Regions from separate parts of the Homo sapiens genome. Here region 1 is linked to region 2. Evidence: promoter capture Hi-C in human tissues and cell types (Jung and others, 2019). All regions are on one chromosome and are shown on one strand. Each heading gives the region's core, a stretch centred on a gene start or on the middle of the fragment in contact. The rest is flanking DNA. Distances are from core to core; before and after follow the strand shown.

Region 1 (5,664 bases), core at 2,782-5,281, 960 kb before region 2:
CATCTGAAAATGGAGCTTGGGACAGCAGTCGAAGCGAGAGGAGTGTGTGCTACCAGTCTTGAATTTGTAGAACATGCAAGCACTGCCCAGGGAGTCTCAGAAATCCTCAGAGAGGGGACTAAGCTTCCTGCCACATCCAAGTGAGACCTTGGATCATAAGACATATTCGAGCTCCCATTCATGAAGCATGTGGTCTTTGGATTATATTTGGGACTTATCTCAATCCTTAAGGAGATCCGGGAATATGTCCTCAGTAGAACTGCTAAATGTGTGAAGAAAATGGTGCTATTTAATATAGAGTGATACTGCACAGGCTCACTGTATAATTGTATCCCAAAGCAAATAGTATATTTCTATTTCCTAACAGCTTCTGAGATGAGAGGATGACAAGAGTAGAGGTGAGAGGCACTTTTTTGAATAAGGATGTCTCAGGCATGACACCAACTATATACAAAGCTACTCAGGTTTTTCATTACCATTTCTCAACATTTTAAATCTTAAATTTCCCTAAGAAGTGAATGAATCATATACTAGATATTATAGATTGGATTTCCTTTAGTGGAATTGTTCCTGGAGTGAGAACAGAGCTACAATTTGATTGATCACAAGTTATTCCCCTGCCCTGGGTAGCTGTGGGAAATTCCCAGGAAACAGTGCTCCGACTGACATCATCAATTGGGCAGGCAGTGGAGCTCAGTCTGAACTTCTTTATCAGGGAGCAGAGTGGTGCCCTAAATTCTACCAGACTTGACTTTTGGATTTCCCAGAAAAGCTACCAGTTATGCATGATGTTCCAGCTGATACTATCTTCTACCCAGTCTCAGGACACGAGGGGCTCAGATGCTGATGGCAATGCTTTTCATTAACAAAATTTCACTCTCCACTCACGCCATCCCAGAGAGTAGGTTACTAGCAACCTTGTAAAAAGTATTTCTCTCTCCTATGTTAATTAAATTCCACAAATTTCACTCTTTTTAAAAAGTGACTTAATCATCAGGAACTGCAATATTGAGTTGGCCAATTATTTTGAAATCACAGTTACATCCAATTTTGAAAAGAGAAGCCATCTTTGGACTTAGCAACTACTGCTTTTAGACCATCTGGAGTTCCAAGCCTTCACTATCTATGGTACGTAATCTCCATGATAATACCTTCATCATTTCATTCACTTATTCACTCATATAACCATTCCAAAGATGCTGGGTACTTATTATGGGTCAAACCCTGTTCTAAAATATAAAGGTAGCAAAGGCATAGTTCCTGCCCTTAAGGAAATTATGTTTTTAGGAAACAGACTATGCTTAGATTAAGTTTGATTATGACTGTCACGAATAATAACATTGTCATTCAAAATAAGATGGGACAATAACATAATTTGGAAAATACTTTGGTATAACGTATGAACTAGCTTTGAAAACACTTTGCAAAGCAATGTCTCAGAAATCTTTGATCAATTGAAAATTGTTTTCAATGTTATTACTTTGAAAGACAGCACAGACTTGCACATATTCTAACTTCTTTAAAATATTTTTAGTCTGAGTCTGAGTCAGGAAGACTGCTTGAGCCCAGGGATTTGAGACCAGCCTTGGCAACATAGTGAGACCCCCTCTCTAAAGAAAAAAAAAAAAAAAAAAGGCAGGCAGGGTGGCTCACACCTGCACTCCCAGCTATTCGGAAGGCTGAAGTGAGAGGACCACTTGATTCCAGGAGGTGAAGGCTTCAGTGAGCTGTGATTGTGCCACTGCACTCCTGCCTTGGAGACAGAGCGAGGCCCTGTCCCAAAAATATATTTTTTAACATATTATTTAACAATATATTTAACACATTATTTTAGTCACAACATGCTACGTCTCTTATAGTGCTAGCACAATGGCTTACCCATAGTAGACACCAGTAAACATTTCACAGGCTCATTGATTTTAAATTTGGAAAGCACTTTTAGAAATTAGCTAGACCTGTGGTCCTTAACTACAATTGGATTTTGGACCACTTTGAAAATCAATCCGTGTTTTTCTTATTTAAAAAAAAAAAAAAAAAAAAAAAAGTGCTGCCAGGCACAGTGGCTCATGTTTGTTATCCCAGTACTCTGAAAAGCCAAGGCAGGAGGATCACTTGTGCCCAGGAGTTTGAGACTAACCTGGGCAACATGAGCAAGACCCTGTCTCTATTTAAAAAAAAAAATTAATTAATTAGCCAGGTGTGGTGGCAAGTACCTGTAGTCTCAGCTACTGAGGAGGCTGAGATGAAAGGATCACTTGAGCCCCGGAGGTCGATGCTGCAGTCAGTGAGCCATGATTGAGTCGCTAAACTCCAGCCTGGGCAACAGAGAGAAAGGCCCTGAAGAAAGAAAGAGAGAAAGAGAGAGAGAGATGGAGGGAGGGAGGGAGGGAAGAAGGCAGGAAGGCAGGCAGGCAGGCAGGCAGGCAGGCAGGAAGGAAGGAGGGAGGGAGAGAAACACACACACGCACAAAAGGAAGAAAAGAAAAACACACACTTACATTTTTGCATGCAATTTCAGAGGATTGGTGTATCAATCTAAAGACCATCCAGGAACTCCCTTAGCTGAGCATCTCTTATCCAGTCTACAACTTCCATTTTATAATTGTTGAAAATCATTGCTAGAAGAATAGTTGGAAAATTGTGTCACCTAAGCCAAAGCTGGCTCACTTCTTGTTTTTATACAGCCTGTGAGCTACGAATGGTTTTTATAGTTTTAAATGGTTATGTAAGTACCAATATATTAGCCTCAGTTCTACCTCTTGGCTTGCAAAGCCTAAAATATTTACTATCAAGGCTTTTGTAGAAAAAGTTTGCCAACCCCTGGTCTGGAATCCTTAGACAATATTCCCCCAAATTATGCAGCCAATTACTAGAAAACAGAGGACTAGAATTCACACCACCTGATTCCTCATCCATTGGTCTTCCCATTACTTCTATTGACTGATTAAAATCCTAATTAACTGATTTAAACCCAATAAAACAGAAAACAAAGACATGTAATTCTGGAGTACTTAATAAGTAATTTCTCAGATAAGTAATTGTGCAGTTATGTAGAACGCTGAAGTCCAGAGAATTAAGTGACCTATCAAAAGTCATATAACAAATTTGTAAAAGAAACAAAATTAAATGCCTATATTCAGGTTAGGCATTACTGACTTATTGTTTAAAAACTTTGCATTATATTTCATTCCACATATTTGAAAAATATTACTTCTTGGAAGTAGAAAATACTGGTATAGAAAGTATTTTACTTAAAGTAAAATTATTTGAACAGATGTTGTTCTTTTTATTTATCTTATTTAAGAAGTTATTTTCAGATCCTTCCTGTTAAGTAGTACTTTAAAAGTGGGATGGAAAGAATTATAATTACCATTATTTCACATGTTATTTTGAATATACTTCTTTTAGAAATTTCTAAGTACTTGATTGCTTACAGATTGTTTCCTTCTATTGACTAGGGCTGCCTGAATAGTTTCAAACTCTATCTGAAAATAATGCAGTAATAGAGTTAAAGGATTTTCATAACAAAAGGAAATTAAGACATCACTTAAAAGATAAGCATTTGAATAATTATACACAAATTCAATAGTGCCAACTGCTCTAAAAAATTCTATGATATGTTTAGCTGGTTTTTTGACAGAGAGATTCTGAAATCATTTTTGTTCACATTTACCCATAAATATTAGGTTTTACTTTCAGAGCAGCATATCCTAAGCAGTAAGAATAGAACAATTCTTTCTATAAAGGAGGAGTTGTGGTCAGAGAATAAGCTTGCTTTTTAGAGCAGAACCATTTGAAGATTCTGAATTAGGACTATGCCAACAAATTAAGTGTGCTTTATTTCTATAGCACTTTCATTCATGTCTCCCCAAACCTAAGTCATCTGCACTTACCTTGAAAATCCAGATTTCTCAGTGATGGCTACAGAGATGGGCCACATGTCTGCCTTCCAAATAGGATTCTGTTTCAACAGCAGGGCAGCTGGGTCATTTCCATGCTCTGCATGCATTTGCAAAGGCTCTGGACAGCTCACCAAGCAAAAGGAAGTGAATGTGTTCTAAGTTCCTCAGAATGTCAACAGACCATAAAACCTCAAAACCATTTGAAACACAATAGTCTTGAAAAACCAAGCTCTTAAACATGAGTAGTCCAGGTTGCAAACTACAGAGAGGCCAATTGTCAAGAAATATTTATGAAGGATTGATGACTACGATGAATCAAGTTTTTAAAATGTTCTTCAAACTAAATTTTGTAGAGAATGGGGAACAAAGTGGTATTATCAAAAACAAAAAGGGAAGGTAAACTGTGTATTGTTCTTCTGGTGAAGGAATATGTGTAATATTTCCTTTCAGTAAGGAGAAAATTTCCAGAGTTGCTCTATACCTCACTGGTAACTTAGGGCTCCCACTTTTATAATTGTGTTAATTAGCTGTCACTGATAAATGGCATTGACTGGGATATGGCACTATAATTATGTCATTTAATTAGAATTAAGAGAGAAAATATTTAAAATCAGAGTGTGCTATAGGGGCAGGGGAGGGGAGTAAATCGTCACAGCTTAACTTTTTAGACTGTCAACATTATCTCCAGAAGAAGCTGCCCATACAGTCATAGAGATGCACTGCAAGTATTGAGAAAAAAAAACATCAGTTCCTCAAACTGCTTGAACTTTCCTACCATTTGATGACCACTCTATAAATTAGGATTTTATAAACTTTCTAATTATGTAAATCGGTGGTCCCCAACCTTTTTTGGCACCAGGGAAAGGTTTCATGGAAGACAATTTTTCCACAGACAGGGGTGGGGATGTTTTCTGGATGATTCAAGCACATTACATTTATTGCGCACTTTATTTCAATTGTTATTACATGATAATATATAATGAAATAATTATACAACTCATCATAATGTAGAATCAGTGGAAGCCCTGAGGTTGTTTTTCTGCAACTAGATGGTCCCATTTGGGGGTGATGGAAGACAATGATAGATCATCAGACATTAGATTCTCATAAGGAACACTGCAACCTAGATCCCTAGCATGGACAATTCAACAATAAGGTTCATGCTCCCATGAGAATCTAATGCCGCTGCTGATCTAACAGGAGGTGGAGCTCAGGCAGTAATGCAAGTGATGGGGAGCAGCTGTAAATATAGACGAAACTTTGCTGGCCCACTCGTGCACTGCTCCGCTCCTTCTGTACAGCCCAGTTCCTAACAGGCCACGAACCACTGCTGGTCTGTGGCCCAGGGGTTGAGAACTCCTGATGTAGACAGCATGTTAATATTATATAGAAATTGGTCAATTAAAAAGTACTAATTTATTAAATATCAACATTTTCAACATTCCCCTATTTTTAAAATCCATTGTGACATTTCACTATTTCAAAAAGAAATTTTAAAAGGCATCAAAATGATACTGGCCCTGGGTTCTTTCTATTTTAAGGTCCCTAAGTAGAATGATAACTTTGGTAATTTGGGGTGATTCCTGGTATTCTTTACAGTGCTAAAACACTCATTATTTTAGGCGAAATTTTTGCAGTTCTGTTTTCATCAGTATTCACATTTCTTACTCCAAACATAATGTTCTAAGTGCTTCCAACTTTGTTTCTTAGTTTGAAGAGAAGGCCTCTGCATCAGGAAACTCTTCAATTTCAGCAGATGTGC
Region 2 (5,153 bases), core at 2,654-5,153:
ATGTGGTACATGTACACAATGGAATACCATCTGGCCATTAAGAAGAATGAAATCCTGTCATTTGCATCGACATGGATGAAACTGGAGGTTATTATGTTAAGTGAAATAAGCCAGGCACAGCAAGACAAATACTGCATGTTCTCACTCACTTGTGGAAACTAAAGAAGGTGATCTCAAGGAGGTAGAGAATAGAACGATAGATACCAGAGACTTGGAAGGGTGGGAAAGGGTGAATAAAGAGAGATTGATTAATGGCTACAGAAATACAGTTAGATGGAATAAGTCCTGGTGTTGAATAGCACAGTAGGGTGACTTTGGTTAACAACAATTCATTGTATATTTCAAAATAGCTGGAAAAGAGAATTTTAAATGTTTCCAAGACAAAGAAATGATACATATTTGAGATGACGGATATCCTAATTACCCTAATTTGATCATTACACATTGCATGCACGTATTGAAATGTCACATGTACACCAGAAATATGTACAGTTATTATGTAGCAATTTTTAAAATCTTGATTTAAAAAACTTCCCCCAAAATTTCAATGCTACTTGAGAAGAATAATGTGAATTCATTGTCAGCTTCACATTCATCTAACAGTTAATATTATGTTTTTAAATTCATGTTGTCTCTCTAATTCTCACAATTTTCTTAAATATTGACATTATATGCCCTATTCTATAGTAAAATAAACTGGTATTCTGAAAGGTGGAGCAGCTTACCCAGGGCACACAGCTACTAGGAGGGGAGCCCATGACACAGGCCCCCCATCCTAGCCCAGAGCTCTTTTAATGAGCCCCCATGCATCCTCAGCATGGGTTAATTTACCCTGTCCTTAGCAGACAGCAGAACAGAATAGAATGAGGCTAGCGTTAATAAGCTCTGACTGAGGAGGAGGGGAGCAGCAGAGGGCCTGGTTTTGGTAGATGGGAACTGAGGACTGCTGTACACAGTCCTGGGCAGCCAGGAGTAACAGGGCAGCATGGACCTGGGCCTTAGAGAGAGGAGAAAGTCTAAGACGAGACACGTGTTGGTGACAGTGCCAGCTTTTACAGGATCTCCCATCACCCACCTCTTTTTTTTTTTTTTTTTTTTCTGATTAAGGAACTTGCTGTGGATGAGGTGGTTGAGGCCAATGTGGTCAAAAAATATTCAGGAAGCATATTCATACTGAACAAGCAGACCACAGGTGCAACACTTGGGGATCACAAAGCCTTAGCCTTCCATGGCACAGGGGAAAGCAGTGGTTTGAATCAGAGCTGTTTGAGTGAAATCAGTAACAAAGTGCTTCAGGGAAGAAATCTCATTTTCAAGAGCAGATTTCGAGATGATTCAAAATTGGAACATCTGACAGTGGGGTCCTGCAGGAACATTCTCCAGGGCCTGACTAGTTGTTCTAAACCACAGGTAGGTCCAGGGCCTTTTGGCAAGCTGTGCAAAGATCCCAAGTCATTTGCACTCAGTACTTGATGAGCAAAGGCAGCCCTGTCAGGGGCAATGATACCAGCCAGTGTGAAGGACAACTGTGCAAATGGGAGGGTCCACTCCATCCTGGTGACGGAGAGGGATGTTTTGTTCAGTGGTCTGTGCACACGTGCACTTTGTTCCAGCTTCTGCTGGCGAAATCACTTTCTGATTTCTGCATTCTTCCTTTGATCATGCCCAGTAAGAACTCACCCTCCAAGCATGAAAAATCCTTCCATTACTGAAAACCTATGTGTCAGGTTTTACCATGATATATTCCTACGAAGTAGATAGTCTCACCTCCCTTTTCTAGCTGAGGACTGTCACCTCTGGAAACAGGAAGGGGCTTGCTCAATACTGCACAGCTAAGTCAGCGACTCCCACTGTGACCAGCCCCGAAGCCTGAGCACACTAGAGAGTTTCAGAGCCGACCATCCCTGGGATGGTTGTGAATGGCACTGCCTGGCCCACATACATGCGATGAAGGGCACAAAACTTGCATTTCCGGCATACCAAGAAATCCCTCTCACTCTAAGAGTTTCCAGACCTGCTCGCAGCTATACATTGAGACCAGGAGAGCCTCAAGAGGCCCAAAGCCTGTGTCAAATGCTCTTCCAGAAGCCCTCAGGAGAGTCCTCACCCATTTATGGATTAGACAAACTAGACCACACACTCCTGGAGTGCTGTAGCACAGCTGGAAGGTATTCAATAAATCCTCCCTTTTCCTGTCCTCACCATTTCCCATGTATGACATGATGGCCTACAACTACCATGGGCGTCTTGGAATTCTCTTGAAGCTGGTCTGGGGTGCAGGTTTCATCACACTCCTGCTAGAGTCATAGACAGATGCACTAAGCACTTACTTCTTGCCAGCCATGCTGCTTTGTTGTTTGGATACATCATGTATTCGAGTGCTTCCAGCAGCGCATTGGAGCGGATATTACCATTATCCCAATAGAAATGAGCTACTTGGGAGGCTGAGGTGGGAAGATCACTTGAACCCAGGAGGTCAACACTGCAGTGAGCTGTGATCACACCACTGCACTCCAGCCTGGATGAAAAAGCAAGGCCCTGTCTCAAAAAACAAACAAACAACAACAACAACAACAAAAACAAGACACTGAAGGGGGGAAAGTTACATCACTGGTCTAATATATTACTCAGAATAAACAGTAGACATGAGACGTAAGCATGAGCCTTTCTGTCTTCACAATCTGAGTTCCTAATCAATCAGTCCTTTATTTAGCCTCCCTTGGAAGTCTCTGGAACTTCTCTAGGCCTCACCCCTGTGGTGGTCCTAGTGACCCCAGAGCTCCCCTTAGTCACAGAGTGAAGAACTGAAGCAGCAGCACCTTAGAGTCAGAGGAAGTCACAGGCCCATGGACGCCTAACGATATCCTCAGTATTGGGCTGGAAGTGTAATTAGGGAAACACTCTGACTTGTGCTATCTCTGCAGCAGGTTTGGGAATTGTAGCCCCATCGGTGCTTGTAAGACTAATGACTGCACAAGAAATCTTCCAACCATAAAAACTGGTATTTCCTACATCCTGGAAAGGATGCTACTCTAAAACTTTGCCTGCTACTCCAAATGCTATTTTTTTTAATTGCTAACAATTTAGATAGCTTCTATAATATTTCAAAATTTGTAATAAGCTCCCTCAGAGCCTAAGCAGAGAGAAACAGAATCTCATGACCTCCTACACTTACCTAGACTGTGGTACTTTGGCCCTGTCCTCTTATCTTGACTGAGAATGGCATATGATTTTGTTTTATCTTATTTTAGAGAGAAACATTTAGATTATATGTCTTTTATCTATGATCTGGTTCCGATTTTTTTTTTCCCTCAGAAAGACAGTGTTCAGTTCTATTCTTCAGAGCAGAAAATCAGTCTCTTAACAAATCATCCACAAAATGCACTTCGAAATTCTGGAGAAAAAAAAGATGCATTGTGCACAGCCTAGCAACTGTGAATTGATTAATTCTAACCCATGTTTTTTCTCATTAGGTCTAAAATCCCACCATGCTAACTGCCCATTATTTTCTGTACTGTTTATTTTCTGCACACCAAATAAAAGGCCTTGACCCTTCAAGGAATAACCCAATTTCTCCAGAGGAAAGATATTATTTGACCAGAATATCCTTTTACAACAAAATAAGGATCACAACCTTACCATATAAAGCTGTTGAAAACAAGACTAAGTAAGTTCTGAATGTAACCAATTAGAATTTCTACAATATGTGGGTGCTGCTGATCAAATTGTTAAAGGGTTGTGTGCTTGTGGATTAGTTTTTTTTTTCTTTTTTCTTCTCAGTTTTGGCTTTAGTATCGTTTTGTTTTGTTTTGCAAGAATGAAAGGGGAAGGGCCTCCTAACCAACCCAACAGATCAGTTCCGGCAAGCCTCGAGGCTCACGGGGTTTATGCACACTAACTTCACTGAGCCAGGGAGCACGGAAGTTGTGCCACTGTGCAACTTGGGTTTTCTTTATCCTGCAGTCTTTACCTCAGCAGAACCGCACACCACAGACTCCCTCCAGCTCTTTGTGTGTGGCTCTCTCAGGGTCCAACAAGAGCAAGCTGTGGGTCTGTGAGTGTTTATGTGTGCTTTTATTCACTTCACACTTATTGAAAAGTGTGTATGTGAGAGGGTGGGGTGTGTGTGTCAAAGAGAGTGAGGAAGAGAAGGAGAGAGAGATCAATTGATTCTGCAGCCTCAGCTCCAGCATCCCTCAGTTGGGAGCTTCCAAAGCCGGGTGATCACTTGGGGTGCATAGCTCGGAGATGCAGTCCCCCTGGAAAATCCTTACGGTGGCGCCTCTATTCTTGCTCCTGTCTCTTCAGTCCTCGGCCTCTCCAGCCAACGATGACCAGTCCAGGCCCAGCCTCTCGAATGGGCACACCTGTGTAGGTATGCAAATAAATATTTTTGTATTTTCTATGTAGACATAACAATGGGATCCAGTACTTTGCTTGCGTAATAAATCACATATTTTATTAAATCAAGAATTGTAAGATTCCAGGTAAGGCACCAGTAACCTCACTGACACAGAGAAATGTGGAGTCTAAGAGTAGACATTGACACTACATACATCTATGTGAATAAAAAGCATACTAGTTTAAATTGGGCATAAAACTCTTCCACCTCATTGGCGATTGGAATTTTTTCTTCTTGTATAGGTAACTATTATTTCAGGCTATTTTAGTCTGAAATTTTTACTGCTTTTCATGGGCTTTGACCTCATATAAACACATCTGAGTTTGAATCACTGCCCTCCTCCTACCCTTCTCTCCCATTTCCTACTGGCTGTGGAAACCTGGAGCAATGTACTTAACCCTCTCCATGCTTCTGTGTCCTTATTGGTGAACTGAAGTGAGTGAGACCCATCTCATAGGGATACCATGGAAATTGTGACCATGCATGTAAATCTGTGGCATGTGCACACAGTAAGGACTCAACCATCTTAGCTTCCTTCCGTCTCTCAGAGAATCCAGATTTGGCGATCACCTGGAGACGCTGAGCGTTGATATGGCTTCTTGGCTCATCTGTTAATGAAGTGTTTTATTTCCAAGAGGTTTTTTTTGTTTGTTTTTTTTGGATGAGAGCAGGAAGTAAGGTAAGATCTTTGATATTCACATTGTAGCTCTCATAACATGGGAATTCTCATAATAGTGGTGGCATTTAGATG

Evidence for each region. Contacts are between HindIII fragments. The study calls those that stand out against the background at their distance.
Region 1: the fragment with the promoter of GPR141 here is called in contact with the fragment with the promoter of AOAH in region 2 in 1 of the 25 tissues and cell types used here (hippocampus).

The regions. Positions count from the first base shown.
Region 1 is chr7:37,682,133-37,687,796 of GRCh38, reverse strand. It overlaps GPR141 (G protein-coupled receptor 141), which reads right to left and starts at 4,031. Exons shown (of 3, transcript NM_001381946.1): 1 at 3,894-4,031; 2 at 2,214-2,337. The HindIII fragment of the contact is 6,620 bases long and covers 1,947-5,664 here.
Region 2 is chr7:36,723,244-36,728,396 of GRCh38, reverse strand. It overlaps AOAH (acyloxyacyl hydrolase), which reads left to right and starts at 3,903. Exons shown (of 21, transcript NM_001637.4): 1 at 3,903-4,375. The coding sequence starts at 4,249. The HindIII fragment of the contact is 16,117 bases long and covers 1-5,153 here.